Linked DNA regions of Homo sapiens: regions 1, 2 and 4 are each linked to region 3. Evidence: promoter capture Hi-C in human tissues and cell types (Jung and others, 2019). All regions are on one chromosome and are shown on one strand. The core of a region is centred on a gene start or on the middle of the fragment in contact, and the rest is flanking DNA. Distances in the headings are between cores, read along the strand shown. Region 1 has its middle 44 kb from the start of LYZL1. Region 2 has its middle 40 kb from the start of LYZL1. Region 3 holds the start of LYZL1 (lysozyme like 1). Region 4 has its middle 60 kb from the start of SVIL-AS1.

What was found. The method cuts DNA at HindIII sites, captures the fragments that hold promoters and counts their contacts. A contact is called where the count stands out against the background at its distance.
Region 1: a fragment that was not itself captured here is called in contact with the fragment with the promoter of LYZL1 in region 3 in 1 of the 25 tissues and cell types used here (thymus).
Region 2: a fragment that was not itself captured here is called in contact with the fragment with the promoter of LYZL1 in region 3 in 4 of the 25 tissues and cell types used here (mesenchymal stem cells, mesendoderm cells, spleen and 1 more).
Region 4: a contact is called between a fragment that was not itself captured here and the fragment with the promoter of LYZL1 in region 3, in 3 of the 25 tissues and cell types used here (mesenchymal stem cells, ovary and thymus).

What each region holds. Positions count from the first base shown.
Region 1 is chr10:29,244,097-29,246,877 of GRCh38, reverse strand. No RefSeq gene overlaps it. Among named protein-coding and RNA genes, the nearest start is that of LYZL1, 44 kb to the left of the region's middle. The HindIII fragment of the contact is 3,022 bases long and covers 1-2,781 here.
Region 2 is chr10:29,327,614-29,330,313 of GRCh38, reverse strand. No RefSeq gene overlaps it. Among named protein-coding and RNA genes, the nearest start is that of LYZL1, 40 kb to the right of the region's middle. The HindIII fragment of the contact is 5,763 bases long and covers 1-2,700 here.
Region 3 is chr10:29,287,701-29,290,400 of GRCh38, reverse strand. It overlaps LYZL1 (lysozyme like 1), which reads right to left and starts at 1,331. Exons shown (of 5, transcript NM_032517.6): 1 at 1,171-1,331. The HindIII fragment of the contact is 13,518 bases long and covers 1-2,700 here.
Region 4 is chr10:29,348,340-29,351,039 of GRCh38, reverse strand. No RefSeq gene overlaps it. Among named protein-coding and RNA genes, the nearest start is that of SVIL-AS1, 60 kb to the left of the region's middle. The HindIII fragment of the contact is 9,519 bases long and covers 1-2,700 here.

The sequences.
Region 1 (2,781 bases), core at 61-2,560, 44 kb after region 3:
TTCTCGGAAGAGGGGCAGGTATAATGAGGAAGCAGCATGATAGAGCCCTAGGGTGCTGGAAATGTTATACATATATAATATATACCACGCTCCAGCCTGGGCAACATAGCAAGACCCCATCTCTAAATTTATACACACATATATATAATAAATATATCTATATATTATATTATTTTAGATATTTATATTATAAATATTATAGTAATATATTTATAAATGTAAGTAAATATAAATATATTTATATTTAATTGTTCATGATGTATATGTTTATATATTTATATATGGTTATTTATATAATATATACTTATATTTATTATTATATATTTAGAGACAGGTTCTTGCTATGTTACCAAACTGTAGTGCCATGGTGTAATCATAGCTCACTGCAGCCTCAAATTCTTGGACTCAAGTAACCCTTCCATTTCAGCTTCCTGAGCAACTGGGACTAGAGACACATATCACCACACTTGACTAACTTTTTAAATTTTTTGTAGAGATGGGATCTTGCTGTGTTGCCCAGGCTTGTCTTGAACTCCTGGCCTTAACTGATCCTCCCACCTTAGCCTCTCAAAGTGCTGGAATCACAAATGTGAGGCACCATGTCTGGCTGGAATGTTTTATATTTTGATCTGGGTGACCTTCATATGTGTAGAAATTTATCAAACTCTACTTTTAAGATTTATTTTAAAGGTATGCATATATAAAATAATTTATTTATAAGTATATAAAATATATTTACTATTTCAATATACAATATTTTAAGTGTAACTATATTTTATACATTTATAAATACATAAGTAAATTTATTTATAAATATATAAAGATGCATATATAATGGTAAACACATAAAATAAATACATAAAATAACTCAAATTCTAAAATTTTTTGTAAAAACTACTACTATTTATTACGTGTTTACTGTGTAACAGGCAAAGTGCTAAGTGCATGAAGCTTTAAAAATATGAAGCAATTTGCCACAGGTGACAGATCCACAGATTCTGGACTCAAATCTAGTTCTCGCCTCTAAATCTCTGCACTCTGTGGTCCCTGCTCTCCCGCGTAAGGACGAAACTAATCCTTAGCCTTGCAGAGACTTGGCCCTGTCAGTCTTTGGGTCTTCCAAGCAGAGCAGGTGGGCCCGTGGGAGTCGCAGTGGCTTGGCTTAACGGGTCTGTTTGATAACAATAAACCTCTGTTGCCGTATTAACGGAGCTGTTAAAACATTTCCCTTGCTGTTGGTGATGTCAAAGGCCCTTGCCAAGTCTCTGGGACAGTGGCCCGATTGTTGAACGAAGGAACTTACTGGAAGAACAGTGAATGGTGTTTTCAATAAGGGCATGGAGGTAAGAACAGAAAATGCATTATTTGTGGAATTTCTTCATATTTGAAGTTCATTCTGGCCGGATGCCCTTTTGGGGAAAGAAAACCCAAAATGAGGCTTCAGAACACATTTCCCTCCATCTACTGTTCTCTCCACTAAATTAAATTATTTTAGTTCAATTTGTTAGAGGCATGAGGTTTAAAATGCAAACCTGATGAGTTATTAACATTTATTAAATGGACATGTACCATCTTAATATTTATTAATGAGGGGTTCCACACAGTCTTATAAACGAGAGCTGAGAAAAACACATGCCTGGATCACAGTGTGTCATCCTCATCCCTTCCTCTCCTCTCTCTGCTCCTGTCCAGTGTGTGCTGACGCTCTCCATGTCTCCATCGCCCGCCATCTTGTGTGCTGGGAAATCTCTACCATTGCTGTTCTCAGGAAATTCTGAGGAGATTCCAACCTGGTTCATCACGAAATAGCACCACCAACATCTCGCTTATGAATCCGTTTAGTTAAGCAGACCCTGCAGAAATCCCCTTTCCTTCCTTTCAAGTCCTGAAATCTGCCTCCATATCCAATAGACAAGACGTAGAAATAAAGTGCTCACCCATTTACCAATGGTATCTCAGGCACATCATCTAGCTTCTATGAGGTTCTGAAGTTCACTGATTACAAACAAAATAGGTACAATACTTATCTCAGAGGACATTATGAGAGTTTTACTAGAAAGCGACTTTGCCTAGTGGAGTGCCTTGCACCCATGGAGGAAAATCACTAAATAATGCTTATGATGATGGCTAATTTAATAGAGGTAGCTGAAAGCCTGACTCTTTTTTTTCCCCCCCAGGGGGAAAAATGTGAATAACAGCTTCAATGACAAGCACCTACTTACTAACATTATTTTCTTTACTGGTATGAATTAGTCCTGCAAAGGGCTAGGCTTCAAGTTCTGCCATATTTCAAAATCTGTTAAACGTAGGATTTTTAAATGAGTCTTGATTGGAAATAGGGAAACTTTAATAGAGGTGAACAAAATACTACTTTTCTGACCTCTGAATTGGTTCATGTTGATCATAGATTCAAATCTTTTTGGACAGAAATTCTGTGATACAAACAGGTATAGTAAAGCCTAGTTGGGTTTCTAGCACGCAAGGCAGATAGGAACACTAGGGCGGTAGAGGGAAACTCCTTCCTCCCTCCCAGCCCAGGCAGGCAGCATTTCCACCACCAGTCTTCTTCGTTACACTGGGGAGTTCTCAGACTTTTTCTCCCTCCAGCCTCCAGGCAGCCCCAATGTGTCCACCAGCCTGGCCTCAGAGATGAGCACTTATTTTTGTCTCTGTTCTAGGTCACTGTACTATTTTTTTTTAGTTGATATAGAATAACTTTAAAAATCGAAATAGACCCAGCTTTGTTAAATTTGCACCCCAATGAAGCATCTTAGAACATGG
Region 2 (2,700 bases), core at 93-2,592, 40 kb before region 3:
TTGAAACCAAGTCTCTGATTCCGAAGTTCAGTGTTCATTCCATTAACCCATGGTGCTAACAGAGAGGAAGATATGGGACTTTCTTTTCACTTCATTGAATTATTTTATGTAAGGATGTGTGTATGTAGTGTTTGAGTGTTTGATAATTGACAAAACCTGGATGCTACAATAATAAGAGGGGAAGGAAGAGGGAGAAAGAGAAAGAAGAATATGGTGGAAAATACAGACAGGCATAGATACACACGCGCACTCCATGTTCCTTTGACCTCAGCCAGCCGGTGGGTGGAGGCATTGCAAAGAAGTGGGTCTTTTGAAAGACATTGACATTAGAAAGGTTGTCAACAAACCTTCTGACAGCTGTTTGCTAATTATTACTTCTAGGGGAAAAGTGTGAATGTAAGTTGTGTCTGAATGTTTTGTTGGAAAAAAATCTGGAATGCATAGTTCCATTCTCCTCTATAATCATAAATGGATTTTCTTGCAATTGTATTTTCTCTTGCTAATGAATAGTAAACAACACTGATTATAGGAGTTATCTAATTCTTGGTGCCCCCCTTGCTGTGGCCTCCCATCACTGCCAAATCCCCTTCTCTCTCTTCACACACACACACACACACACACACGCACACACACACACACACAGAGAGAGAGAGAGATCAACACATAAATCAGCAAGCCATGTTGACCCTTACGCAATGCCATGTGCTGTGAAAAGCACCGGGAATACAGTTCATACAATTAAGGGCCAATTATGTGCTTATTGGCTCTTGACCTAAGAGGAGACACAACGTCTTCAGGGCAGGAATTGTGTTAATGCTCTGTTGTTCTCAGGGGCCTCATAGAGAGCTCTGTTTCACTTGGGGAGAATTTAGAAAGCAGAGCGCCCTTAATATCTATTTCAAATAGAAGTAAATGCACTGAGTATAAAATTAACTTTCTCTCAAGTGGTGGTTACACAGCTAGGCAAGATTGGTTCAGAATAATGAGAGCCAATTGGCTTTGCAAAAATGGGAGGAGGTGGGGGAGACCAAAATGTGGGTGATGTTTGGGGCAGTAGATGGAAGGTGCTGCTGAGCTGCTGCAGAGATGACCTGGGGTAAGCAGTAGACCACGAGCATGCAGCTCACTCAGGAATGTGGGAAGTCATCCCAGGCATCTTCTCTGTTCTCATTTGGAAAGCACGCCAGGGCAATGGCAGTTGCCAGAGTTTTAGGTCATGACTGCTTCCATAAGAAATATTATGATTATCCATATTCCAAATTATCCTTCAGTACGAATGGTAGACATCAAACAAACCACCTCATTTTAAGGTGGAGTCACATAAGTTTCACAGCTGCTAACCAACTGTTTGAAGACTTTCAGGGATGGTTCCCTCTTTTTTTTTTTTTTTTTTGAAAAGAAGTCTCACTCTGTCACCCAGGCTGGAGGACAATGGCGCGATCTTGGCTCACTGCAACCTCTGCCTCCTAGGTTTAAGTGATTCTCCTGCCTCAGGCTCCTGAGTAAGTAGGATTAAAGGCATCTGCCATCATGCCTGGCTATTTTTTGTATTTTTGTAGAGACGGGGTTTCACCATGTTGATCAGGCTGGTCTTGAACTCCTGACCTCAGGTGATCTGCCTGCTTCGGCCTCCCAAAGTGCTGTGATCACAGGCGTGAGCCACTGTTCCCAGCTGTCTTTTTTAAAATATATTTTTTTTAAATAGAGAAGGAGATCTTGCTATGTTACCCAGTCTGGTCTTGAACTCTTGGCTTCAAGCAATCCTCCTGCTTCAACCTCCCAAAGTGTTGTGATTATAGATATGAGCCACTGACCCCCACCAGGGATGGTCCTCTCTTGATACTACCTCAGATCTTTGAGCTGAAGAATAAGAAAAGGAAGAGTGTGAGGAGGCGTGAAGAAGTGGATAGATGCTGGGCATCTTATCTCATCCCTGAGGTCCAGGGAAAAACAGGCTTCAAAGTCAAAAGGATACATGGATGCAAGTTCTGGTTCTGCCCTTTACCACCTGCAAGGTCTTTCCAAGCTTCCTGAATGTCTACAGCCTTAGACTCCTCCTATGTAGGGTGAGTTGTCTGAGAAATAAAGGTAATGTATGAAAGATTCCTGGTATAGTGAGTTCTTAGTTATATGTAGCTACTATTATTATTTTATAAATGTTTCAAACATTGATGTTGGTGGTCACTATAGCAATATCTCACCGCCTTAGGACTCTCAGAAGTTCCTGTAGCTCAGATGTCCCAACCCCCAATTACAGAAATGCTGGCATGGAGCAGGTCATTGGATAAAGACCTCAGTTTCTCCAGTTGCCTCTCCATAAGGGGAGGGCTGAGTATATACGTGGCCAATAAACGGCAACATCTATTACTAACCCAAAGAAGCAAACGATTCACATGACTGCATTGGAATGGAGGTTACAGAACTGAAATAGGAGAAAGCACAAGCAAATTTCTTATGCCCTCAGATTCAGCACGGAATATGCTGTCTCAACCCGCTTGTCCGTGGACAGCCTTGACTGTCTCCTGGGGAAGAATATGAAGAAGCTTTCCTTTAGAAGATGCCATCAGGGAAGACTGGACTAAATCAACAGTTGGAGAAATAATGATGTGTAAATCAGAGTGAGGCCATTTCACTGTGAGGTTCATGTTTGCTTTAGGATGCTTTGGACTTTGAAATGAGAAAGTTGACACACCATGGGGT
Region 3 (2,700 bases), core at 82-2,581:
GAGGGGCAATAAAGAGACCCCTGCGGAATCATCTGAAATGGGAGTAGGATCAAGAGAGCTGTCTCCTGCTGCCTACTGATTTTCCACAATCTCTTCCCCTCTTGAAATAATGTCTTCCCCAAATACAACAGCCTTGCTGGGATGGGGTGAAGTGAAATTTCTGACAACTACTCGGGATCCTGAACTTGATGTTCTTACATATGTTCATCCCGTGTCATTTTCTGCACTTGCCTAGAAACTTCTCCAGTCATTAGTTTCTCTCCCTGGGGCTGGATTCCTGCATTGAAAGGCTAGGCCCAAAACAGGGATAAGTAGTCATCAGCAAGGCCACCGCACCAAGTAACAAGCAGGGCTTTAAGGTGACTAAGCAATAAGGTAAGGAACTGCATTGCATGAGGGGCATGTACATTACAAACGTGAATAGCAAGCGTGGGCAAACCAGGCCCGCTTTTGTATGTAAAGTTTTATTGAAACATAGCTACACCCATTTGGTAATATATCATTGGTGGCTGATTTCCAACTACAGTGGCAGAGTTCAGTAATTGTGTTTGAGGCCGTATAGACCACAAAGCCTAACATATTATTATCTGGCCCTTTTCAGAGAGAGCATGCCAGTCCGCTGTGTACAGCACTGTGTTAAGCTGTGAGGGACAGACAAACGAGGTTTAAGATGCAGAGCTAAGGCCAGGCATGGTGGGTGATACCTGTAATCCAAGCACTTTGGGAGGCTGAGGTGAGCAGATTGCTTGAAGCCAGGAGTTTGAGACTAGCCTGGGCAGCAAAGGTAGACCCTGCCTCTACAAAATATACAAAAATTAGCCAGGCATGGTGGTGTGTGCCTGTGGTCCCAGCTACTGGGGAGGCTGAGGTGGGAGGATCACTTGAGGCTGGGAGTTTGAGGCCATAGTGAGCCATGATTGTGACACTGCACTCCAGCCTGGGCAGCAGAGTGAGAGACCCTGTCTAAAAAAAAAAAAAAAAAAGAAAAGAAAAAAGAAAAAAAGATACAGAGCTTACAAATAGAGTTGGTTTCCATCCCCTGCCTTAGAATTTTACTGATCTCAAACAAGTCCAAAGAAAACCCGCAGCAATGATAACCCCAAGCATCATGTTCTACATCCTTCAAGAACCTGCCATTGCTGGTTCTCATAAGAGTAATTTAGGTCTTACTGAAAAGGCAGATTCCTGGTGCCTGCCCCAGAGGCTGACTTCTCAGTTGAGTCTGCGGAAGAAACACTGCTCCACTTAGTCGGTGACAGGCAGCTCAGGGGAGCGTCCTGCATCCCCTGAAGCCATGTCTGATTCTAACGAGGCGCGAGTAATCCTTTCCTAGCTCAAGAACATTTCTTTAGAGTGTTAGAGAAAGAAAAATTCTTAATCCTTTGTTTCTCACCACCTAGAGATGCTAGAATTCTACTTCTTGGCACTAAAAGCTGTATCATCCTGCATGCTTGTGTTCTGAGGCAGGTGATAACTGTCTTCTGGGGCTTAATACCTCTTGTTTTTTGTCTTTTCCCCTCAACAACCCTCCTCATTACACAACTTGGCCAGGGCCTCCTGTCCAAGTGAGAGCTCTTCTCTGAGGCGTCTGCAAACTTTATCACAAATTCCATTAATAAAGAAAGTTAAGCATGTATCCTCTTTAGATGTACATTGAGTTATAAATCATACTTCTGTACCTCAGTACTAATATGCTACATAAATTATCAACATACATAAAACTAAAATTTGAAAATTAATGACATAGAGGTGAAATTAACATTAAAAATTTATTAACAGCACATTTGCTATAGTCAAATTATTATTAATAAAATATTTTTGTAATAACATGATTTTATTATTTTTGAAAAATTTGGCTTAACACTTTGTGAATCAATAACTAAAGGGCTGTTTTCAAGGTCTATTTATTTCAATGTTCAGATTTAGTGACACATTTGAAATGAATTCTCATTAGAATATGTAGATCTAAGTAGAAGTTTATTGTTGGCTGCACCTAACTAATCGTTATATTTTCTTAAATTCCATCTGCCAATAATGCAAAGGTTTTGTTGAAATCTATTTTGAAGTTCATATAGTATTGCATTATACAGATACAACATAGCATACTTAGCCAATTTCATATTGATGCACACTTATTTTATTCTTCTATTGTAAACATATTACAACCAGTAATTTTGTACATATGTCATTTGTAACTTTACAAGAATATCTTGCTGGATCAAAGGGTATAATTTTGTAATTTTGCTAGATATTTGCCAAATTGCCTTTCACATGGGCTTGTATCAGGAAGATAGCACACTGTGTTATCAAATGTTTCAATATTTCTCAATATTAGAGATGAAACATAATTTTTCAGCAGAGTTTCAATTTCAACTTTCGTTATTTCAAGCTGCTTGAGGGTCTTTTTTATCTTTAGAAGCCATTAGTGGACTTCTTGTGAACAGTCTATAATATGAGAAAATGTATAGGTTTTTCCCTCAAACATCTTTTTCAAAATGCTTTGAAATAGGGATCTTACCAGTGAGAAAATAGAGACGGATTGTCTTTTTCTTTTTCAAAAATGCTTGCTTAGCAAGTTTTCAGATATGACGTAAATATACAAAAGCCATTTACAATCTTATATACTAGGAATAGAAAATAAGAGTTTGAAATAAAAAAAAATCCATTTACAATAGTACACAAATGCAAATGAAGTACTTA
Region 4 (2,700 bases), core at 31-2,530, 61 kb before region 3:
CCAGAACCCAGAGCAAGAAATACAATGTTACCAGTTCTCTTTTGTGTTATCTCCCAGGCACTAATCCTAAGTGGGGTAATCATTATCCTGTCTGTTTGTGTACTTTATAGAAATGGAATCATGCAGTGTATACCAGACTTTTAATGTCTGGTTTCTTTTCCTCCATAGTATGGCTGTCATATTCATCCATATTTTTGTGAGTACGTGATTCTTTCTCACTGTTGTACAGTATAGGTTGAACATCCCAAATCTGAAAATCTGAAGTCCAAAATGCTGCAAAATCTGAAACTTGTTGAGCACCCACATGATGCTGAAAGGAAATGCTCATTGGAGCATTTAGATTGAGATTGAGATTTCAGATTTTTGGATTTGGCATGTTCCACCAGTGAGTTTAATGCAACTATTCCAAGACCTGAAAAATTAAAAATCTGAAACATTTCTGGTCCCAAGCACTTGGATAAGGGATACTCAACCTGTATTCCATTGTGTGAATATCGCGTAATGTATTCATTCATGCTACCATTGCCGTGCACCTGGGTAATTTTCAGTTTTTAGCTCCAATGAACAGCACTCCTAAAAAAATTCAGGTAAGTGTTTATTAGTGAACACATTTCTGTTGGGCATGAAAACCCAGAGTGGAGTTGCTGAGTCGAAGGGTATGTATATGTTAGCTTTAGTAATAATTTCCAAACCATTTTCCTAAGGGTTTGTACCAATTAGCACTCTAATGAATAGTGTGGGAGTGTTCAAGTTGTTACATATTCTTGCCAATATTTGGCAATTTTAATTTAAATTTTAGCCATTTTGGTAGTGTGGAATTGCATCTCTATGATTTCAATGTGCATTTCCTTGATTACAAACAAAATTGAGCATTTTTAATATGTTTACTAGCCATTTGAATATTACTCTCATTTATGAAGTGGCATTTCAAGCATTTTGTCCATTTTCTACTGGGCTGACTTTTTTTTTAACTTCAATCAACAATGATTTTATTTGATCTTATTCATCAGTTCCTTTTTTTGTCTTCCAATTTTTATTTTAAGTTCAGGGGTACGTGTGCAGGTAAATGTGTGCCATGGTGGTTTACTACACAGATCATCCCATCATCCAGGTATTAAGCCCTGCATCAATTGGTTATTCTTCCTGATGCTCTCCCTTCCTGCCCCTACAGATGCCCAGTGTGTGTTTTTCCCCACCACAGGTCCATGTGTTCTCATCAATCAGCTCCTACTTATAAGTGAGATCATGCAGTGTTTGGTTTTCTGTTCCTGCATTAGTTTGCTGAGAATAATGGCTTCCGACTCCATCCATGTCCCTGCAACATGATCTCATTCCTTTTTTTGGCTGCATAGTATTCCATGATGTATATGTACCACATTTTCTTTATCCAGTCTATCACTGATAGGCATTTAGGTTGATTCCATGACTTTGCTATTGTAAATAGTGCTATATGTGTGCATGTATCTTTATACTAGAAGGATTGATTTATATTCCTTTGGGTATATACTGAGCTGACTTTTAGTAAATTGACTTGGCTAGGCATGGTGGCTCATGCCTGTTATTCCAGCACTTTGGGAGGCCAGGGCAGGGAGGATTGCTTGAGGCCAGGAGTTTGAGAACAGCCTGGGCAACATAGTGAGACCTCATTTTTATAAAAGCAATTAAAAATTAACTTGTTCATATATTTTGTGTATTTTTTTTCTGAGACAGAGTCTCACTCTGTTGCCCAGGCTGGAATGCAGTGGCATGATCTTGGCTCACTGCAAGCTCCACCTCCTGGGTTCAAGCGATTCTCCTGCCTCAGCCTCCTGAATAGCTGGGATTACAGGTGCCCACCACCACACCCAATTAATTTTTATACTTTTAGTAGAGATGGGGTTTCACCATGTTGGCCAGGCTGGTCTTAAACTCCTGCCTGGCTCTACTGCAGTGTAGACTTTGTCTTAAGCAGATCATCATGTGGCAAAGCGGTGATTCCACATGCACTCTGGCCTTCTTCTGAATGGCTGTCGGTGGAGCCTGAGACCTTGTGAAATCAATAATGTGGCCAAGGTCCAAGGCGAGGAAAGTGAAGGCTGCTGGCAAAGATGTCTTGGTGCAAACAGATGGGGTCTGAGCGTCCACCCTTCTCTTCCTGGGTTTGCATCCTGAAACTTCCTGTGGTGAGCTCCCCAGCTTTCGTATTATGGAAGTAGATTCCTCAGATATAAACAAGTCCTTGTCTGGAAAGAAGTCACTTAGTGGGCCTGAGAATGGAGCACAAGTAGACCCATCAGCACAGAGCCACTCTACAGACCAAGAACGACCTCGCAAGGCACCGCACGACCGGCACTTGGCTTCCTAGTAAAAGCAGGACCCTGCATGTTCCTCTACATCTTATACCATTTATGCTTAAGGGGTTATATTTTTTTTCTGGGGTCAGTTAAATCACTTTCTCTTCCCACTGTGGTAAACCCCAAAGAGCCTCCTGATAATTAATTTTTGTTTTATTGCTAGATTGCTCTGCTCTGCTAGAATGTAAATTCTATAAGAGCAGGGACCTTGTCTGTCATAGTCACTCAGTAACTATCACAGCTAGTGAAGAATGAATGAATGAATGAAAACTAGGCTAGCCTGATGAGTAGATAAGAAGGAAGCATTGCTATGAGGAAGAGCCACGGAACAAAGAAGGAATTGAAGGATGATATTGACGCTCTCACG